Linked DNA regions of Homo sapiens: region 2 is linked to region 1. The links are contacts of gene promoters, found by promoter capture Hi-C in blood cells and fetal thymus (Javierre and others, 2016). All regions are on one chromosome and are shown on one strand. The core of a region is centred on a gene start or on the middle of the fragment in contact, and the rest is flanking DNA. Distances in the headings are between cores, read along the strand shown. Region 1 holds the start of RASSF6 (Ras association domain family member 6). Region 2 overlaps ANKRD17-DT (ANKRD17 divergent transcript).

Region 1 (4,202 bases), core at 131-2,630:
GCAATCTTGGCTCTCTGCAGCCTCGACTTCCCAGGCTCAAGTGATCCTCCCACCTCAGCCTCCCGAGTAGCTGGGACTATAGGCATGCCCCACAATGCCGGGCTAATTTTTTTTTTTTTTTTTGCAGAGACAGGGTTTTGCCATGTTGTCCAGGCTGGTCTTGAACTCCTGGGCTCAAGTGATCCACCAGCCTTGGTCTCCCAAAGTGCTGAGATTACAGGCGTGAGTCACTGCACCTGGCCTGCCTCACCTTTTGAACATATAGGATCTTACTTAAAGTGCTATGACAAACATGCAACCTGAACATCTAGAGTCATTCTGTTTGTCTGGCGTTTGAACACGAAAGATACTAGAAATTAACTCTGCCTGCTGAACTTTTTGCAGGAATCAGATTGAATTTCTTTTGAGGGCTCTCAGGTTTACACTTGTAAAATAACCTATTATGTTTAAAAATTATGAATAGTTGCTTTACATAGGAAACCAGTAAAATAACAATGATCCTTAAAAATCTGTGTGTGTGTGTGTGTGTGTGTGTGTGTAAATGTACTTCATATTTCCACAGCATCTGTCATTTAACAGTTTCTAAGCCTTTTTGGTGTCCTTTTGAAATTGGAGATATTGGATAAAACAAAGCCCCCAAATCCAATTCAGTAGATAATGACTAAATTATTATTTATCTCCTCTGTTTTGTTTCATTATGTTCATTTTCAAACTTTGATGTCTACCAGTTTCTTCTGTGGAGCTTATAAAAAATATAAATACCCGAAGTGTATGCATGGCCTACTAAATCAGAGTCTCACAGTTGATGGTACCTGGGTTTAGCAGAATACATAGGTGGTCCTGGTGCACCCTGAAGCGCGAAACGCTGCTCTGGGTGAAAAAAAGTGCTAGCAGGGAAATGTGTTAGCAAAATAACAAGGAAAAGAAAGTTAACAAATCTCAAATTGGAAAAGAAAAATCTTAAAAAGAAAGACGTGAATAATGGCGTTCAGTCTTGGTTGGTGTCATTTCTCACAGGCCAATTACCTACAGTCTGGGTGGACTAGAGAATAGAGATTAACATCAGTCAAATCCCGTGGTTAAAGCGTTAACTAGAATGTCCATTCATTTCTCAAGAAGTGTGGCAGAGAGCAAAGGAGTGTACCTATCAGCTGTTCCTAAGAAAGTAAACACTCCCAACATGCACTGAGGCACAGGGAGTGGCTCAGGTTTCTTGACACTTCCCTGCTGTGGCGAAAAGGAGAAATAATTAACAGCTCCTGGGGCTCCAGGATCGCTGATCGCGTCGGGGGCACTGCAAGCGCCCAGCTGAGCCATGCTCTGGGAGGAGACAGGCGCCGCCCCTGCGCCCGCGCGGGCCTCGGACCTCCCCTACAGGTGAGTGACTCGCGGAGTCCCAGCCCGGCAGAGACAGGGCACTGGTTTCCCTCTACCAGAGTTCCTGACCCAGCCGAGAACAAACCGCGAAGCAAGTTCAGCCGAACAACGATGGTGAAAAGGGTCCTCCTGCTCACAGTGTGAATAACAGGTAAAAAATGGGGATGGGGAAAAAAACTTTCTAATCCACTCCCTGGGGTCATGTTGAGGGCAAGTTATTAGAAAGCAGAATCCATAGGCAACAAAGTTAAGTGTGTGTGTGTCATAGCAGCCTGAATCGCACACATGCCTTTTCCTTTTGATTTTCTCAGAATATGCTTTCCTAACCAAGGTAAGCTTGTAGGGTGGGAGGGAGAGAGGGGAAAGAAGGGAGGGAAAGGGTGCAGAGAAGGGCTTGGAGGTAAATGTGACCATAGGACCCCTCCTCCCTTTAGTTCAATGAGCCCTTCACCTGTAATTGTGCCTGGCAAAAATCGTGCCTTACAAAGATACTAGACTTCTGGATGGCATACTCCTTCCTCTGAGTATCCTTATGGTTAGAATATTGTGTTGAATCATCGCACTGGAAAGAACTTAATTGAGGGTTCAGCTCAACTTTTATTTGTTTCTGCAAAGTGACAGAAAGCATGCCCCCCACCAAAAAAAAAATGAATTTTCAATATAAGCGCTCACCAAACAATGAAATAATAAACATAAATAATTAAATGGGAGTGCATGAGTTAAGGATATGAATTCTGAAGCAGAAGAGTGGTAGGTTCAAAGCTCGGCTTTGCCACTTATTAGTTTGCCCCCTCTCAAGTTTCTTAACCTAAGCCCCAAACGTTTGTCTGTAAAACAAGCATCATCAAAGGATCTGCCACATAAGGCTTTCTTTGATGGGAACTGAACAGTCAGCAAGTGTTCTGTAAGTGATACCTACTGTTAGCATTAAGAATAAGCTGCTCTGCCAAAGGGGCCGTTATCAGGGAGGGCAAGCTGAACTAGGGAGACCAGACAGTGTGTATTAGGATGCTGGAATTGAACTGGTTCCCGGAGACTGGATCCAGGACAGGCAAGCAGGTGACAGGTGTGCTAGGATCATCTCTCTGGGTAGCAACGAAATGACCTGGCTTCTTTCCATTTTTCAGATAGAGTATGTGGTGGCAAATTCAGACATATTTGCTACTCAATCAGTTTTCTTTTGAAAAATTCACATTTACATTAATCTGTTATTCCTAAAAAGAAAATAGAATTTTAGAGTAAGAGAGTTACACACAATCTCATATTGTGGAATTCATGCCATTTGGGTTTTATAAAGGAGACTGCTTTTGAATAACTTTCATCAATTTAGACCATATAATCCATGTCTTTATATTTCAGCACATATTGAATTGTTTGTATTGAAGTGCTGTTTTTAATTTGTGTTGATGGACAAGAGACATGAAGGAATAATACTTGTATTTTGTCAGTCTCTACCTCTTAAGCTTAAATTACAGGAAAGTGGCTTTATTTTATGAAGTTTCACTTAAAGGGCACTTTTGTCAATGTTGTTAGTTATTAATGTTGCTAATTTTCTTGAGGGGACCAACTTAGTGTCTATGACTAGTAATTTCCATTGACTTCATTTTTATCTTGTTATTTTATTAAATAAAGCAGTCAAAGAGTTTGCAGTATACTCTAACTTAATATCATTGGTGTTTTAATGGATTCTTTTTTCAAATTGCAGAGTTGAAATTCTTCAGTGTGCTTACAATTAGATATTGACTGGAGAATTGTGGATAGAATTCTAAACCCAACCTAACTGAAGTTTACTATGTTATTTCCCTCTGGGGTCTGATTGTGTTTAGTACAGTTTAGCTAAAAACTTATAAAGGAATCAAATTGAATTAGAATAAGTTAGGGTTCCAATATTCATTAAAGATTTTTCAAAGAGGAAATATGCTTTTATGCTGAATTTCCATATTGTTATACATCCTTAAACAAAGTTATTTGCCTTTATATTTATTGATAGACATATGTCTAAATAAAGAATAGTAGCCCCAATTGAGATAAATTTATTTAACCATATTTGAAATTGATTTGAGATTAATCTACTTAACCGTAACTGGGTGGAAGTCTTTCTAGTTAAAATCTGTTTAGATAGATAGATAGATAGATAACAACTTTATATCTATACATTAGAATATTGTGTTGAATTTACATTTATTCTACTATTTCTCACGTGTATAACATTTTATTATAAACTATTAAATGTTGTGGTCAATCAGAGAGAGAGAGAAAGAGAGAAAAGAGTGACACAGAGAGACCCAGCAATGATTACGAAAAAATTAACTTTTCCAGTTATATTCAAAATAGTGTAACATGTATGTAACAAGTCTTTTAAGCATGTAATTAAAAGTTCTATACCTGATTCTTGTTTTAATTTCCTAAAATAAGAAGGATCCTTTACTTTTAACTGAGATAGAAACCCAATGCTGACAGTCCATTTGCTTATATAGATTCATTGATTGCAATGTAGGTGGGGAATTCACGGTTACTAGAGTTACATGGGCTTCATATAAAAGCTTAGATTTTTAAAATATTCAAGTATAGGCCATTTGAAAACAAAACCTCTGAGAAAGGAATTCTGAATATTTTCCTTTCACATTACAGTTAGAGAGTTATTCTGTTGCAAAAATTAATTTGTATGTTTAAAATGATAAATTATAGTGATTTCATCACTTTCATAACATAATCTCAACAACCAAACTTAACTAATACCACTGCTTTCAGGAGTAGAACATGAAGTGTCTCCTATTTAAGTAATAAGGATGTTAACTTAAAGGAAAACTTCATCATCACCTAGA
Region 2 (3,736 bases), core at 1,029-3,528, 280 kb after region 1:
TGCAGCCCACGGAGGGCGAGCTGAAGCAGGGTGGGCCGTCGCCTCACCTGGGAAGTGCAAGGGGTCAGAGAACTCCCTTGGAACTGGGTAACAGGCAGAGGCTGGAACAGTTTGGAGGACTCAGAAGACAGAAAAGTGTGGGAAAGTTTGAAACTCCTAGAGATTTGTTGAATGGCTTTGACAAAAATGCTGATGATGATATGAACAGTAAGGTCCAGGCTGAGTTGGTTGCAGATGGAGATGAGGAACTTATTGGAAACTGGAGCAAAAGTGACTCTCGTTAGGTTTTAGCAAAGAGACTGGCGGAATTTTGCCCCTGCCCTAGAGATTTGTGGGACTTTGAACTTGAGACAGATGATTTAGAGTATCTTGCAGAATAAATTTCTAAGCAGCATAGCATTCTACAGATGACTTGGATGCTGTTAGAAGCATTCAGTTTTAAAAGGGAAACAGAGCTTAAAAGTTTGAAAAATTTGCAGCCTAACAATGCAATAGAAAAGAAAATCTCATTTTCTGAGGAGAAATTCAAGCCAGCTGCAGAAATTTGCATAAGTAACGAGAAGCCAAATATTAATCTCCAAGACAATGGGGAGAATGTCTCCAGGGCATGTCAGAGACCTTTGCAGGAGCTTCTCCCATCACAGACCTGGAGGTTTAGGAGGAAAAAAATGGTTTCATGGGCAGGGCCCAGGGTCCCTGTGCTACGTGTAGTCTAGGGACTTGGTGCCCTGCGTCCCAGCTGCTCCAGTCATGGCTGAAATGGCCAACACAGAGCTCGAGCCATGTCTTCAGAGGGTGCAAGCCCCAAGCATTAGCAGCCTCCACATGCTGCTGAGCCTGCAGGTTCACAGAAGTCAAGAATTGGGGTTTGGGAACCTCCGCCTAGATTTCAGAAGATGTATGGGAATGCCTGAATGGCCAGGCAGAAGTTTGCTGCAGGGACAGGGCTCTCATGGAGAACCTCTGCTAGGACAGTGCAGAAGGGAAATGTGGGGTTGGCTCTCTGCGTGGGGTTGGGCCCTCTTGCATCAGTGTGACCTGGATGTGAGACCTGGAGTCAAAGGAGATTATTTTGGAGCTTTAAAATTTGACTGCCCCACTGGATTTTGGACTTGCATGGGCCCTGTAACTGTTTTGTTTTGGCCAATTTCTCCCATTTGGAACAACTGTATTTACCCAATACCTGTACCCCCATTGTATCTAGGAAGTAACTAGCTTGCTTTTGATTTTACAGGCTCATAGGCAGAAGGGACTTGTCTTGTCTCAGATGAGACTTTTTACTGTGGACTTCTGGGTTAATGCTAAAATGAGTTAAGACTTTGGGGGACTGTTGGGAAGGCGTGATTAGTTTTGAAATGTGAGGACATGAGATTTGGAGGGGCCAGGGGTGGAATGATATGGTTTGGCTCTGTGTCCCCACCCAAATCTCATCTTGAATTGTAATCCCATAATTCCCACATGCGGTGAGAGGGACCCAGTGGAAGATAATTTGAATCATGGGGGCAGTTTCTCCCATACTGTTCTTGTGGTAGGTTAATAAGTCTCATGAGATCTGATGGTTTTATCAGGATTTCCCCTTTTACATCTTTGTCATTTTTCTCTTGCCGCCACCATGTAAGAAGTGCCTTTTATCCCTCGCCATGATTCTGAGGCCTCCCCAGCCATGTGGAACTGTAAGTTCCTAATTAAACCTCTTTTTCTTCCCAGTCTCAGGTATGTCTTTATCAGCAGCATGAAAATGGACTAATACAATAGCCCAATTTAAAAATGGGCAAAGGAAGTGAATAGATAGTTCTCCAAAAAGGATATACAAATGGTCAATAAGCACTTGAAAAGATGATCAACATTATTAGCCACCAGGGAAATGAAAATCAAAACCACCAGATGTCATTTCACACCCAATAAGATGACTACCTGAAAAAAGATAGACAATAACAAATGTTAGCAAGAATGTGGAGATATTCAAATTCTCATATATTGCTCATGGGACTGTAAAATGGTGGTAGCCACTTTGGAAAATAGTCTGACAGTTTCTCAAAGGGTTAAACAGAGTTACCACATGATCCAGCAATTCCACTCCTAGGTATATACCCAAGAAAAATAAAAACGTATCTACACAAAAACGCACACACAAATGTTCATAGCAGCAGTATTCATAATAGCATAAAAGAGAAACCACCCAAATGTCCATCAATTGATGAACGGATAAACAAAATGTAGTATATTTATACAATGAAATATTGTTTAATAATAAAAAGAAATGAAGTAATGATACATGCCACTACATGCATAAACCTTGAAAACACGTTAAGTGAAAAACCTATCACAAAGGACCACATATTCCATGATTTCATTTATATGAATTTTCAAGAGTGGGAAAATTACAGAAAGTAGATTGGCAGTTGCCTGATGCTGGAGAGGAAAAGGAGATTGTAGGGTGATGGCTAGGGAATGTGGGTTTTTTGGAGGGGGTAATGACAATGTACTAAAATTGTGTTGATGGATGCATAACTCTGTGAATATACTAAAAACCCTTGAATTGTACACTTTAAGTGGGTGAATCATATGGCATGTGAATTATATCTTTAAAAACCATAATAAATTTACTTGTGATGGTCATTCAGGAATATTTTACTTTGCACACAGAAGCACAGGGGCATGTGATGATGCCGAGACAAAATCTTAGGTCAGACATAAATATGAAAACTGCAAGTCTCTAAAGCCTCATGTAGCTGCTCCTCAGAAACATATTTAAGACATAATTGGTTTCAAAAACAAGAAAGTTAGTGAACAAACAAAAGAAAAGCATATAAAGTAGTAAAACTGCTGCAAAGATTACCTTGATGATATTAAAGACATAAGTTCATGGGAATAAGTCACTGCCATAGGCAAAGAGAACTTACTTTCAGGTTCTCTTTGCTACAGTGAGCAGAGAGAAAAATGAATCAATGTTCTTGTGCCATAAATGAAGTATGGATAAACTTAGACACTTTTTAGCTTCTTTAACCAGGCTTAAAATGACAAAAAGCAATATATAGTCAAAACATTACTTCTGGAGAAGCCCTACTCTTGAATTTATCTTTGGAAATTAAGAATTGCCAAGGAATATTGCCATTTGGGGGTAGGCATGCAATATTGTAATAATTAATTTCTTTTGAAAAATATCCATTTTTACTTAGAAGAACCATTCAGTAATTCAAGGCAGAAATTTCTTTTTAATATTTAATTTTAATTTTTGTGGGTACATAGTAAGTGTATACAATTATGGGGTACATGAGATGTTTTAATGCAGGCATGCAATGTTTAATAATCACATCATGTAAAATGGGGTATCCATCCCCTCAAGAATTTATCCTTTGTGTTATAAACAATCCAATTATATTCTTTTTATTATTTTTAATGTACTATCGAGTTATTATTGACTATAAAAAGTGACCCTATTGTGCTATCGATTACTAGGTCTAACTCTTTCTATTTTTTCTGTACCCATTAACCATTGTCCCCAGCCCCCCACTACTTTTCCCAGCCTCTGGTAACCATCCTTCTACTCTCTATGTCCGTGAATTCAATTGTTTTGATTCTTAGATCCCACAAATAAATCAGAACATGTGAAGTTTGTCTTTTCTGTGCCTGGCTTATTTCACTTGGCATAATGACCTCCAGTTCCATCCATGTTGTGGCAAATGACAGGATCCCATTCTTTTTATGACTCAGTAGTACTCCATTGTGTATAAGC

What was found. The method cuts DNA at HindIII sites, captures the fragments that hold promoters and counts their contacts. A CHiCAGO score of 5 or more calls a contact.
Region 2: a fragment that was not itself captured here is called in contact with the fragment with the promoter of RASSF6 in region 1 in 1 of 17 cell types (megakaryocytes); the score reaches 5.9 in megakaryocytes.

Annotation. Positions count from the first base shown.
Region 1 is chr4:73,617,614-73,621,815 of GRCh38, reverse strand. RASSF6 (Ras association domain family member 6) reads left to right here and starts at 1,380. Exons shown (of 11, transcript NM_177532.5): 1 at 1,380-1,528. RefSeq lists enhancers at 808-1,356, 1,357-1,906. The HindIII fragment of the contact is 3,198 bases long and covers 1-1,715 here.
Region 2 is chr4:73,336,638-73,340,373 of GRCh38, reverse strand. All of the region lies in intron 3 of ANKRD17-DT (ANKRD17 divergent transcript), which reads right to left. Among named protein-coding and RNA genes, the nearest start is that of ALB, 66 kb to the left of the region's middle. RefSeq lists enhancers at 287-786, 787-1,288. The HindIII fragment of the contact is 6,759 bases long and covers 1-3,736 here.